Linked DNA regions of Homo sapiens: region 2 is linked to region 1. Evidence: promoter capture Hi-C in 16 types of primary human blood cells and fetal thymus (Javierre and others, 2016). All regions are on one chromosome and are shown on one strand. Each heading gives the region's core, a stretch centred on a gene start or on the middle of the fragment in contact. The rest is flanking DNA. Distances are from core to core; before and after follow the strand shown. Region 1 holds the start of PCBP3 (poly(rC) binding protein 3). Region 2 overlaps PCBP3 (poly(rC) binding protein 3).

Region 1 (6,633 bases), core at 1,904-4,403:
GCAAAGTACTAATTTGCCCCTAGGTAACATGTGTGCTGGGGTTGTAGGCTGAGGTAAGGGTATGAATTCTGCCTGAGGAAAGGCTCAGCCTGGAGTGTAGTCCTGCTGAAGGCCAGAGACCACACACTCCACCCAGACTCCGGATCTCCCTCCCCAGCAGGGGGATGGAGGCCCTGCCGCTGGGAGTGCTGGTGTTATGTGGAAGGGCTGGGCTTCTCCAGGGCTCCTGGGAGGCCTAAACATCTTGCAAGGTTTTGACGTTAATTACTATTATGATTGCTTTCTGTGTGTTACTGTTTTCCCCACACTTTAGCCAGCTAATGTGGAGCTACAGAAGGCCCTCGCCCCTACCCCTCCAGATGTCCCAGCCCATGACAAGCAGGAAGGCCGGGTGCTGGGAGACTTCCTGGGGCTGGATCTGACATCATTCCAAGCAGATGATAACCTGCCTTCCCGATTTCCAAACCCACAGCAAGACACCCTGGAGTTATTTATAAATGCGAGCCCCTGGGTGCACTTCTGACGGGACCAGCACCCTGACGGCCATGAGAGGGTGGAGACAGCGCACCCCGAGCTCAGGGAGGCAGGAAACTCTGGACCTGGAGGCCGGGCACCATGAGGGACACGCTGCAGGCCCAGCTGCTGCCGCCTGGGGCGGGGCTGCCCTGCAGGCTCCGGGAAAACCCAGAACCAGGCCGGATCAGCGTGTGTCAAGAGGCGGGGCGTGAGAGATGAGCTGCTTTTTTTCTTCACAGGGTTGGCAGGAACTGCAAATAATAGAAAGTCTTTAGGGTCTAACACGCTGCCCTGAAAACACTATCATTACTTTCCTAATGACTAACTGTGTCTTTCAGCCGGCGGGGCAGGCAGCTGAGGCCGCAGGCTCCCGCAGAGGACCGGGGGAGGCTGGCAGCCTGTAATCTGGGGGCGCTGACAGTGCTCTGCCCAGACCCTCGCGCCAGCTCCAGCTCCAGCACAGCAGCCCTGGGTCCCTCTGGCCCCCTGCCCGCAGAGTCCAGGTGTGGCAGAGGCCGCCCAGTATCCCTTCTCCTCCTCCTTTTCTAAAAACAGAGTCTCACGATGTTTCCCATGCGGGTCTCCAACGCCTGGGCTCAAGCGATCCTTCTGCCTCGGCCTCCCAAAGCGTTGGGATTAAGGGGCGAGCCACCGCGCCCGGCCCACCTTCCCTTCTGGTTCATTTCCAGTAAGGTCCTGTCCACAGCGTCCTTCCCAGCATTCCCACCAGGCTGCAGGCCTTGGCCTCCCTCCCCTCCATTCTCATTCTCCCCGAAACCGCCAAGCGCGTCCAAAGCACGGGTTCGCCAAGCGCCCCCCCCGCCCCACTCCACATTCCCTTCCCCGCCGACTCAGCCTCCGTAGCTCGCGGACGGCCCCTCCTCACGCCAGCCCAGGCTTTTTTTTTTTTTTTTTCTTCTATTTTAAGGTTGTCTTTTAATGACACAAGCGACATTTGGAGACAAAAGGACACATCTCTTCCTGACCCACCTCCAACCCCAGCTGACGGCCGCCCTGAGCCTGGCGTAGACGGCCCGGAACGTTCCCTGCGTGGGTTCCGTCCATCCCGAACCCCTGTCCCCGCGCCGGCTCCGGGGGTGCTCGGGGGGCCGCGTGGGGTCTGTGACGTCGCCTCGAGGCTGCATCCCGGTGACCCGGCAGCCCCTGGCGCTCGCGGGAGGCGGGCGGGCGCGGACCCCAGGCTTTAGGGCGCGATTCCTGCAGCTGGCTGCCGGCCCGAGGTTCTGGGGTGTCTGAGGTCTCGGGCGGGGCGAGGACGTTTCTCCGGCTCAGCCCCCCCACCTCCTGCCCTGCCGCCCCCCACACCCAGCTCCCCACGGACGCCAAGAGGCGCCTCCCACCCCGGCGAGGACCCGCGGGGAAACGGGGCCCAGGCGCGGCGACTGCGGAGGACGCGCCTCGGCCCCAGCGCCCTGGTCCTCGGGGCGTCCGGCTGCCCTTGCCCGAGGCCGGGGCGGGCGCTCAGCGCCGCGGAAGAAACGCCCGGGCGGGGACGCACAGCGAGGCGGGCTCCGCGGGAAGTACCGGGAAAACGGCGCGGAGCGGAACAGCCCGGAGCCAGCCCAGAGAAAGGGCGGCCTCCCCCTGCAGCCCCCGGGGCCCAGCAACGCCCCGCCCCAGGCCACGGCACGCGAACGCCGGGCGGGCGGAGGGGACAGGGCGGCGGGACCAGCGCGGGGCGGGCAGCGTCTGGGCACAGGCTCACGAGCCGCTCGGGGCCCCTGCCCGCCGGGCGCTGCGGCCCCAGCCTCCGGGCCGGGGCCAGGCCCACAGAGAACGGGAAGCGGGCGCTGCAGGGGGACCTTCGGGGTTGCGGCACGGCTGGGAATTCAACGGCCATTCCCGTCCCGTCGGGCCCACCCGCCCGCCCGCCAAATCCCCGCCCACCGCGGATCCGCCCCGTCCACCAAGGTCTCGCTCACCAACGGCCCGCCCCGCCCACCACAGGCCTGGCCCGCCCACGAAGGCTCGCCCCGCCCATCCACGGCCCTGCCCACCACAGGCCCGCCCCAAGCCTGGGCCCCGCCCCAGCAAGGGCACTAATCCCCTAACCCCCGAGCCCCGCCCACTGCTCTTGCCCTTCTCCCGCCCGCCCCGACTTAGGCCTCTCCCCGGCCTGGCCTCCCGTACTCAGCCCCGCCCCTGCCCCGCCCCCACCCCACCCCAAATGTGACCTGCCCCTCCCACTGCCCGTCCCCTCCCCGCTTCACTTCATTAGGCCCCCGCCCCGATTCTTGCCCCGCCCGCTCAATGTCCCGCCTACGACCCCGCCCACTACTAGTGACCGGCCCGCCCGTTCGAGGCCCCGCCTCCTCCCCGCCCAATGCTCGGCCCCGCCCCGCGCGTCATTGGGCCAGGTCCCCGCCCCGCCCCCAGCCCCACCCCCGCCCCTTTGACTGGAGTTGGCTTTTTCCAGAGAACTTTCCGGGCTCGGATTGGCCGCGCCGGTTGATGTTCCGCCCTTTCATTGGCCCGCGGCGCCCGCTTTCGCGAGCCTGCCCTTGGGCGGGGGCGGGGCCGGCGGCGGCGCGCGGCGCTAGATTGGTTAGCGGCGCAGAGGGGCGGGCCCGCGCCGCGCGCAGCGCTCGGGCTGGAGCGCCTGAAGCCGCGACCGCCGCCTCAGCCGCCTCAGCCGCGGTCGCCGCCGCTTCGGCTGACTTAGGCTCCGCCGCCGCCTCCTCACCCGCCTCGCCCCGACCCCGCCCGGGCCTCCCGGCCTCTCCCCGCCGGCCCGCGGGCTCGCCGTCCGGCGCAGGGCAGGTGAGTGAGCGGTGGCGGGCGGGGTCGGGGTCGGGCGCCCTTGCGGGTTACGGGGACCCAGTCCCCGACGGAGGCCGAGTGACGGGGCGACCCCGGGCCGCGGCAAACTTCGCCCGAGCCGGGGCGGGCGGGGGTCCCGGGCTGGGTCGCGCCGTCCCCGACCGCCGCCGGCGCCTGCGGCGGCCCGGGGCAGCGAGGGGACTCGCGCTCCCTCAAGGTGCGGTCGCCAGGCCTGGCCCGCCCGCCTCCGCCCCCTCCCCAAATTCGGAAGTTGCGGCGGGAAGCCGAGAACGTCTCGGATGTGGGTCAGAAAACGTCTGGACTACTTGAGGCTTCAGTTTCAAAACGGCACAAATTTCATCTCTTGATTGAGAAGAGATCTGGGGAACACCCCGGAGCGGCCGCGGCGGCTGGAGGGCGGCGGGGCGGGGCGCGGGGCCTCCTCCCCCTGGACGGCCGCCGGGAGAGCGCGGCCTCACCCCTCGGTGACCCTGCGGAGAGCCGCGCGCGGGCGGTGGGGCGCGCGCAGGTCTCTCTTGTTGCTCGCTGTGTTTTATTTTAATTTTGGGGGTGGTTAGAACGTGTTTCTTATTGTCCCCACACGTGTTCTAATTGGAAGTCTTGTTTCGTGAAAGAGTTTTTTTCTTTTTTTTGCCTGGTGATGTTTTCCAATTCCCTCCGCGCCACTCTGAAGTATATTACTGGCATAAGAAATTTGAAAGTTAACCAAAAGTCGGGTCCTAAATCTCGTGGCTCGGGGTTGGTTATCTTCCACCGTCCTTCAGAGCAGCCTGGATTTGCAGGTCTTGTTAGCCCTCCATGTGAGCCAGTAGCACTCTTAGTTGTTGAGTGTTTGTAGAGTGGGATTCGCCAGAAGGAATCTTGAGCAGCAGGGCCTTGCGGAGAGGCCTTTAGAGATTAGACTGGGCAACTTATAGACTCCCCCCATTTCAAAAATATTCCTCTGGCACAGGCCCTCACATATCCCTCTGAAATTGAACTCACTTTCAGGGGCAAACTGTTGCCCTTTTTCTTTTCTTTGGACTTTCTCAGATGTGGATCCCAAAGGAGTGTGCAAGGGTGCTTCCCTATTTAAGAGAACTAACTCCCAGTCCTCCTCATATTCAAGAATAATTCATCATCTTAAAGCGTGTCAGAGATACCTATTTTGGCCCCAAAAGGAGTGTTTGTAGAACAGTGGCACTCTAAAGGGATCATTTGCAAGATCTGAAAGGACCTAATTGATCATCACACGACAGAAGCAGAAATAGTTCTGGTGTTTTCAGGCTTGGAGATCTGTCAGAAAACATGGGGCCTTAAAACTAACAAGTGCAGTGACCGACTAACTGATGTCTCACTTTCGAGCAGTATTTTTTTTTTTTGCTTGTATGTAGATGCTGTTGTTTATACAGTGCAAGTTCATTACGAATGGTTTAGAACTTACGTAGCTTCACGTATTTTCTTAGTTGATAATATTATAAGGTTTTGAAAAAGTTTTGATGATAAATGGGGTCTTTATAACTGAAAAAAATGGACTCTGTCTAGAATTCAGGGCTTTTTGGCTGGCGTTGCCCCAGGTGCTGCTGATTAGTGGTGCTTTTGGACCTCAAAACATCACTTTCCCAGATATCTTTATAATGCTCATGGTGGGGGAAAACCCACACAGCTTTGTGGTTACGTTTTTAGCTATTTATGCGAAAAAGTTCAACATATAGTTGTATTTTGCTAGCTGTTTTGAAGAAGCTATTCTTTACCCTATTGTTCTGAGGAGGCTGACAGCATGCTGCATTTATAAATTTGAAAAAGCCTCACGAGCTTCTTGAACCAATCTAGCTATTCAGATTTGGATTCTGTGTATCAGTTTTGATTATTTCAGTTCCTGTGTCAATGGCAGAATCATTTCTATTTTTACAAAAGTCTCATGGCTTTATTGTAAAGGTGAACACTGAAACAGATTTTAGTAGATGTAAGTTGTGTATCCTCTCAGTGAAGAAGGCAGTGCTTTGGGCCATAACCAAGGAAAATACTTGCTCATGTATTGGAATTGCCCCAACTTAAACATTAGAATAAATGCTGTAGATTTTGGGGCAGCTCTGATGTCTCAGCTCTCATCCCTGGTGGCAGTGACTCAGAGGCAAGGCGTCATGGGCCCGCTGTCCATGGTGCTGAATCCGTGTCACCTGTTTCTCTCTCTCTCTCTCTCTCTCTCTCTCTTTCTCTCTCTCTCTCTCTCTCTCTCTGTGTGTGTGTGTGTGTGTGTGTGTGTGTGTGTGTGTGTTTTGGGGCAGGGGGAGCTCAAACTTCCTTTCCAGTGTACTTTAAAATTAATTTCAGAATTCATATTATTAAATAAAATTTGATCAGGGAAATTATGTTGAATGGGAGCGTGTCTTGAAAACACGCCATTTTATTCTTCTTTTTAAGGAGGATAATTATGCTACAACATTCAATTTCCTTTGCTTAGTCTTCACTGTCTCTCTAGGTGGGAGTTTTGTTGCTTGAGTATGGGCATCAAGTAACAAATCACTGACATTAAATGAAACCCTGTTTTCTTAACAACCATTCCTTTAAGAAAGTACCAGTTTGTTTTAGTTTGTTTTCTTTTGCTTATAACAGAATACCTGAAACTAGGTAATTTACAAAGCAAAGGAATTTATTTCTTATAGTCATGGAGGCTGAGAAGTCTAAGGTCCGGGGGCCAAAGCCACCAGCTCCACTCCCATGACAACCCACTAATCCATTAACCCATGAATGGATTAATCCATTTTATGAGGGCAGAGCCCTCTTGATCCAATCACCTCTTAAAGGTCCCACCTCTCAATACTGCTTCTGCATTGAGGATTACATTTCAGCATGAGTTTTGGAGGGGATATTCTAATCATAGCACCTTTATTACAATATAGACATACATCTGTAGGCATATATCTATGTAGGGGCAACTTGTTCCCAAAAGGGTTGACTCTAGCATGTTTTGCATTCTCCAGCATGTTGGTTCTCAGCCTTTCCTGGCGATGGGATCTGTTTATGTGTTGGGCTACTGAGTGGTTGCCAGGCATTCCTGTTGTGTTAGAGCTATATCTACTCTCTTTTCTCTAATATTGAGGACATCTTTGTAAATCATTTTACATGAATCTTTTCTTTCTCTTGAGGTTAATGTTGTCAGTTACTTTAGAATTGCCCCACAGGTTAGCAGTAAAAAAAAAACAAAAAAGATAGATGTCACTTGTGGTACAGAGATGTCACATGGTAGTAAGTTGTATATCAAGCTAAGCAGTGGATTGTTGAGGTGCTTTTTGTTATGATCATCTGAACTGATTCTGTGGCCCCATTTGTTGT
Region 2 (6,633 bases), core at 1,117-3,616, 240 kb after region 1:
TCTGCTGTCTGCGTTTGTTGTGTGGCGTGAGAGTCCATCCTGGTTTCGTGGCATTTTTCTCTGCATCCTTTTTATTGACAAGACGTTCCTGTCGTGAGTGGTTTTCCTCTGGCCTCTTCTGGGAGCTGGTGGATTTGCAAGTCACGGCCAGCCTTCGAAAGCAGGACTGTTGCCTGGTTCCCCAGTTGCCCTCCTGGAAAGCTCTACCCTGCTGGCCCTGGGCCTCGGAGGGGAGGGGAGCGCCTGGGGCGCCGCGGTCCTGACCCCACACAACTTCTTCTGCCATGGCCCAAACCCAGCCCTGTGCCGCCTCTGTGGGCCACAGGGACCCCCACAGCAGACCCCCAGCAAACCCTCAGTGACTGTCTGAATGAAAAACGCAGGAGTGGGTGGTGTGGGAGAAAATAGGATTACGGTGCTTCTGAGTATTGAGTTTAGAAATCGCTGAATTTCAGAACGTTCCACGAGGCCGTGGAAATTGAGCTGGGCTCAGTGCTCATGGTGTGAATCTGTCTAATCCTTAAATACATACTGCGCCCCCTTGTGGGCCAAGAGTGGTGCTGGGAACTGGGGATTCAGTGGTGAACGGAGGAGACACGTGTGCCCTCTGCCCTCTCGGTGCCAGGGTGGCCCCAGGTGACTGCAGCAGGGCCAGGAGAGACGGGGTTGTAGGTACAGCCTGGTAGGCAATACCCTCCAGAAGAAGGTCCTGATAAGTGGGTGGGAGAACTCACCCTGTCCCTGCCACGGAAGCCAGGGAGCCAGCGGGAGGGCAGGGAGCAGTGACAAACAAGACCAAGGGGGTAGGTGCTGGGCTCTGGACGGGAGGCTCAGGGCCGGGGTTAAACAGCACAGCAGTGGGAAGGTACCCAGGGGCTTCAGCACGGGGTGAGTCCAAGCTTAGAAGCTCACTGGCAGCGTCAGGCAGCTCATGCCCAGCCAAGTGCTCCTGAGTGGACATGCCTGGGCCAGCTGCGGGCCACAGCTGTGGCTGCTTTCCTGGCTGGCCTTCATCAAGCTGAGCGAGTTCCCCTCTATTCCTGTTTTTTTCTGAGCATTTTAATTTTTATCGTGAGTTGGTATGGAGTTTTGTGACAGGCTTTTCTGCATGCATTGATATGATTGTGTGCTTTCTTTAGTCTGTTAATAAGGTAGATTACACAGACAGATTTTCCAACTCTGAGCCAGCCTTGCATCACAGGAAGAATGGTTATAGCATGTAATTCTTGTGGTATATTGCTGAATTCTATGTGTTCATGTTTTTTGTGTGTGAAATTATTAAATCAAGCTAATTAACATATCCATCACCTCACATACCTTTGTTTGTGGTGAGGTTCGAGTGATCCTCCCACCTGTCTCCCAGGAGTTGAGACCACAGGTGCACTCCACCACACCCAACTAATTTTTTCAACATTTTGTAGAGATGGGGTCTATTTTGCCCAGGCTGGTCTTGAACTCCTAGACTCCAGTGACCTGCCTACCTCAGGCAACAGCCTAGGCAACATAGAGAGACCCCATCTCTATAAAGAATTTAAAATCACTCTCAGCAATTTTCAAGTATACATTGTTCTTACCCATAGTCACTGTGCCACACAGCAGCTCCCCAGCCTGTTTGACTCCCGTCTAACTGAACTTGTGCCAGTGACCAACAGCTCCCATTTCCCCCAACCCCCCGCAGTCCCCGACAGCCACCTCCCACCCTCTGCTTCTGTGAGATGCACTTTTTTAGATTCCACATGTGAGATCATGCAGTATTTGTCTTTCTGTGCCCAGTTCATTTTACTTGTTATAATGTCCTCCAGGTTCATCCGCAGTGACACAGATGACATGGCTTCTTTCTGTGTGTATGTCTGTGTGTGACATTTTCTTTATCCGTTCGTCTCTCTATGAACACTTAGGCTGATTCCACCATATCTAGGCTGTTGTGAGTTGTGCCACAATCAACACGGGCCTGCATGTGTCTCCTCACTATAGTGACTTTGGGTATATGCCCTGAAGTGAGACTGCTGGATCCTGTGGTGGTTCTATTTCTAGTTTTTTGAGGAACTTCCGTACCGTTCTCCATAATGACTGTACTAAGTTTCCCATCAGCACTGTACAAGGGTTCCCTTTTGTCCACCTCCTCACCAACACTTAGCTTTTGTCTTTTTGATAATAGCCATTCTAACAGGTATGAGCCGATATCCCATTGTGGTTTGAATTTGCATTTTTCTGGTGATTAGTGATGTTGTGCACTTTTTCATATACCTGTTAGCCATTTGTATGTCTCCTTCTGAGAAGCTTCCATTCCGTTTCTTTGCCATTTTTTTAAAATCTGGTATTTGTTTTCTTGCTATTGAGTTGTTTGAGTTCCTTACACATTTTGAGTATTAACTCCTTATCAGATGTTGTATGGTTTGCAGTTTTTTTTCCAGTTCCCTAGGTTGTCTCTTCACTCTGTTGTTTGCTGTGCAGAAGCTTTTCAGTTTGATATAATCCCATTTCTCTACTTTCTGCTTTTGTTGCCTGTACTTTGAGGGCCATATTTAAAAAAAAATCATTAACTAAACCAGTGTCGTGGAATTTTTCCCTGTGTTTTTTCTTAGTGGTTTTGCAGTTGCAGATCTTACATTTAAGTCTTTAACCCATTTTGAGTTGATTTTTATAGATGGTGTGAGATGAGGGTCTAATTTCATTCTTCTGCACAGGGACATCCAGTTTCCCCAACACCGTTTATTGAAGAAACTGTCCTTCCCCGTGTGTGTTCCTGGTGTCTTTATTGTAGATGGATTGGCTGCAGCTGCGGGGTTTCCTGCCAGGCTCTCCGCTCTCCTCCACCGGCCTGCATGTCGTTCTTACACCAGCGCCAAGTTCTGGTCTTTAGTATTTCATTCCTCTGCTTACTTGGATTTATTTTGTTCTTCTTTTATTAGATTCTTAAAATGAGTGCTTAGATTATTGATTGGAAGCTTTTCTCTCTTCAAATGTGTGTGTTTCGTGCCACAGGTTTCCCTCTCAGCACTGCTGTAGTTGTGTCCTGCGATTTTTGATATGCTGTGTTTTTATTTTCATTCAGGTCAATGTGTTTTTTGATGTTCCTTGAGATTCCCTCTTTGACCCTTGGATTGTTCATATATGTGTTTCATTTCCAAGTGCTTGGAACTTTTCTTGTTATCTTTCCATGATTGATTCTGGTTTGAGTCAGCTGTGGTCAGAGAACATACACTACGGTTTCAATTCTGTTAAATTTGCTGAGGTTTCTTTTATGGCCAAGGGTATGGTCTATCCTGGTATAGATTCTGTACATGCAGGAAGAGAGTGTGGATTCTGCTGATGCTGGACAGAGTGTTCCGGAAGTGTTCGTTAGGCCCCGTTGGTTGATGGTGTTGAGTCCTTCCAAATCCTTTGCTAATTCTCTGCCCAGTGGTTCTTTCAGTTGTTGACAGTAATAAAGTCTTCAGCTGTCGTTGTGGATTTTTATATTTTTCTTTTCACTACTATTAGTTTCTGCTTCACATATTTTACAGCTCTGTTATTTGATTCATACACATTTAGGATTGCTATTGCTTATTTAGACTCTTTTATCATTATGTAATGTCCTTCTCTGTCTCTGATCATTTTCATTGCTCTGACGTCTATTTTTTCCGATATTAATATAGCCATTCCTGCTTTCTTTTGATTAATGGTTGCACGATACGCCTTTTCCCATTAGTTTATCTTCAGTTTGCTTATATTGTTCTATTTGAAGTGAGTTTTCTGTAGACAGCATATGATGGGGTCATATTTTTAAATCCACTCTGCCCATCTGTGCTTCAATTGGTGTATTTGGACCATTTATACTTAAAGTTATTACGGTATTGAGATGTTAGGGCTTAAATCTGCCATTTCACCTTTTATTTATCTTTTGTATTTATTTATTTTGAGATAGGGCCCTACTCTGTCATCCAGGCTGGAGTGCAGTAGTGTGATCATGGCTCACTGCAGCCTCTTCTGGGCTGAAGTGATCCCCCCACCCCAGCCTCTCAAGCAGCTGGGACCACAGGCATGCACCACCATGCCCAGCCAATTTATTTTTATATTTTGTAGAGACTAGGTATTCCTGTGTTGCCCAGGCTGGCCTTGAACTCCTGGGCTCAAGTGATCCTCCCACCTTGACCGCCCAAAGTGCTGGGATTACAGGCGTGAGCCATCGCACCCAGCCTCATTTTTAATTTTGTTGGCTTTGTTTTTTGTTTCTCTGGTTTTAGTTTTTTCTTTCTTCCTGTGAGTCAGTGTACATTTTTTTGGAATTTTATTTTATCAGTAGCATTTTAGAGTATATATCTGTATGGCTTTCTTTTTTAGTGCTTGCTGTAGGTAGTATATCATATATATACACACATACTGAATACTAAGTATATAGCATATATATACACACACAAATATATATATGTAGCACATGTATATACACATGTATACATACACATATATAACATACACATATGCAACATGCATGCACATCTAAATATACATATATGTCACGTGTGTGTGCATGTATAATGTTTGAGACAGGATCTTGCTCTGTTGCCCAGGCTGGAGTGCAGTGACACGATCATGGCTCACTGCAGCCTCGACTAACCAGGCTCCAGCCGTCCTCCCACCTCAGCCTCCCCAGTAGCTGGGACCACAGACAGGCACCACCACACCCAGCTAATTTTTTAAATTTTTTTGTAGAGACAGGGTTTTGCCATGTTGCCCAGGCATATATGTGTTACCAATTCTACTGCTGTCAACATTTCACCAGTTGGAGGGAAGAAACTGTAACTTCCTTTATAATTTTTTTACTGTCCCTCATTTATGATGTAGTTGCTTTAAATATTTCCTAAGCATTCTGTACATATCAGACAATGCTGTAATTTTTGCATCAGTCATCAATCATAGTTTAGAGGACTCGAGAGTGAAGCCTTTCTATGCACTCACATGTTTGCCTACTATGTTCTTTCTTCCTTCCTGATATTCCAAGATTTCATCATTATTTCATTTCTGTTTAGAGGACTTAGGCCTTCTCCCAGCGTAGGCACGCTGGCAGCAACTTCTCTTCATTTTCCTTCATCCCATAATGTCTTTATTCCTGATTATTTTCACTGGATATATCATTCCAGTTGGCACTTCTGTCCTTTTCAGCACTGAGCAGTTCGGGGCCACGTCCTCCTGGCCTCCGTGCTTCTCGCCTGAAATCCACGCCATCCATTGTCTCCCTCCTGTAGCATGGGGTCATGTCCCTCTTGCTGCTTGCAAGAATTATTCTTTGCCTTTGGTTTTTAGACTCTTGACTACAATGTGTGTTTGTGTGGATTTCCTTGGATTTATCCTGTTTGGGGTTTACTCAGCTTCTCAAATATGTAGGTTTTTACTTTTTGCCAAATTTGGGAAGTTTTAGCCATTATTTTTTCAAGAGCCTTTATCCCCATCCCCTTTGTTCTCTTTTTCTGGTACCCTAAGGACATGAATGTTAGGTCCTCCCCATGTCCCACAGGTCTCAGGGGCCCCATCTGTGTGTCTTCGGTCTGTGTTCTCCCTCTTGTTGGGACGGGGTACTTTCTGTTGTTTTTTCTCACAGCTCCCTGCTTCTCTCCCCTGACTCTTTCACTCTGTTATGGTTCTTTCTAGTTCTGTCGTTCCCTTTCAGTTGCCTGCATCTCCCATTAGCTTGGTGGGAACTGGCTTCTCTGTGGAGGTATTCTATTCTGTTTTCTCATTTGTTTAAAGAGTGTTCCTGCTTGTTTGCTGAAGCATTTTTATGAAGGCTGCTTTCACTTCTTTGTCAGAGGATTCCGACAGCTCTGTCATCCTGGGGCTGACACTGTCTTTCATTCAGTTTGAGATCTTTTGGGTTCTTTGTATAACAGGTGATTTTCTTTTTGAAATCTGGACCTTCTGGATATTACGTTATGAGACTCTGGTTATATAAACCTTCTGTTTAGCTGGCTGCCTCTGATACTTCTCCAGCAGGGGAAACAAGAAGTGAAAGTCCAGGCTTTCCACTCGGCCTCTGCTGGTACCAAGGGCAGAGGACGTGGTGAGGTGTGGAGGAGGCCTCATTGCCGCTGGTACCAAGGACAGAGGACATGGTGAGGTGTGGAGGAGGCCTCGTTGCCGCGGGTGCCAAGGGCAGAGGACGTGGTGAGGTGTGGAGGCCTCATTGCTGCGGGTGCCAAGGGCAGAGGATGTGGTGAGGTGTGGAGGAGGCCTCATTGCCGCGGGTGCCAAGGGCAGAGGATGTGGTGAGGTGTGGAGGAGGCCTCATTGCCGCTGGTGCCAAGGACAGAGGACGTGGTGAGGTGTGGAGGCCTCATTGCCGCGGGTGCCAAGGGCAGAGGATGTGGTGAGGTGTGGAGGCCTCATTGCTGCGGGTGCCAAGGGCAGAGGATGTGGTGAGGTGTGGAGGAGGCCTCATTGCCGCGGGTGCCAAGGGCAGAGGACGTGGTAAGGTGTGGAGGAGGCCTCATTGCCTCTGGTACCAAGGGCAGAGGATGTGGTGAGGTGTGGAGGAGGCCTCATTGCCGCTGGTACCAAGGGCAGAGGACGTGGTGAGGTGTGGAGGAGGCCTCATTGCCCCGGGTACCAAGGGCAGAGGATGTGGTGAGGTGTGGAGGAGGCCTCATTGCCGCTGGG

Evidence for each region. The method cuts DNA at HindIII sites, captures the fragments that hold promoters and counts their contacts. A CHiCAGO score of 5 or more calls a contact.
Region 2: a fragment that was not itself captured here is called in contact with the fragment with the promoter of PCBP3 in region 1 in 1 of 17 cell types (naive CD4 T cells); the score reaches 6.8 in naive CD4 T cells.

The regions. Positions count from the first base shown.
Region 1 is chr21:45,640,572-45,647,204 of GRCh38, forward strand. It overlaps PCBP3 (poly(rC) binding protein 3), which reads left to right and starts at 3,154. Exons shown (of 18, transcript NM_001384156.1): 1 at 3,154-3,297. RefSeq lists silencers at 2,359-3,348, 3,669-3,808. The HindIII fragment of the contact is 8,393 bases long and covers 1-6,633 here.
Region 2 is chr21:45,880,056-45,886,688 of GRCh38, forward strand. The region is part of intron 5 of PCBP3 (poly(rC) binding protein 3); the gene reads left to right. Among named protein-coding and RNA genes, the nearest start is that of PCBP3-AS1, 47 kb to the left of the region's middle. RefSeq lists an enhancer at 520-1,324. The HindIII fragment of the contact is 177 bases long and covers 2,279-2,455 here.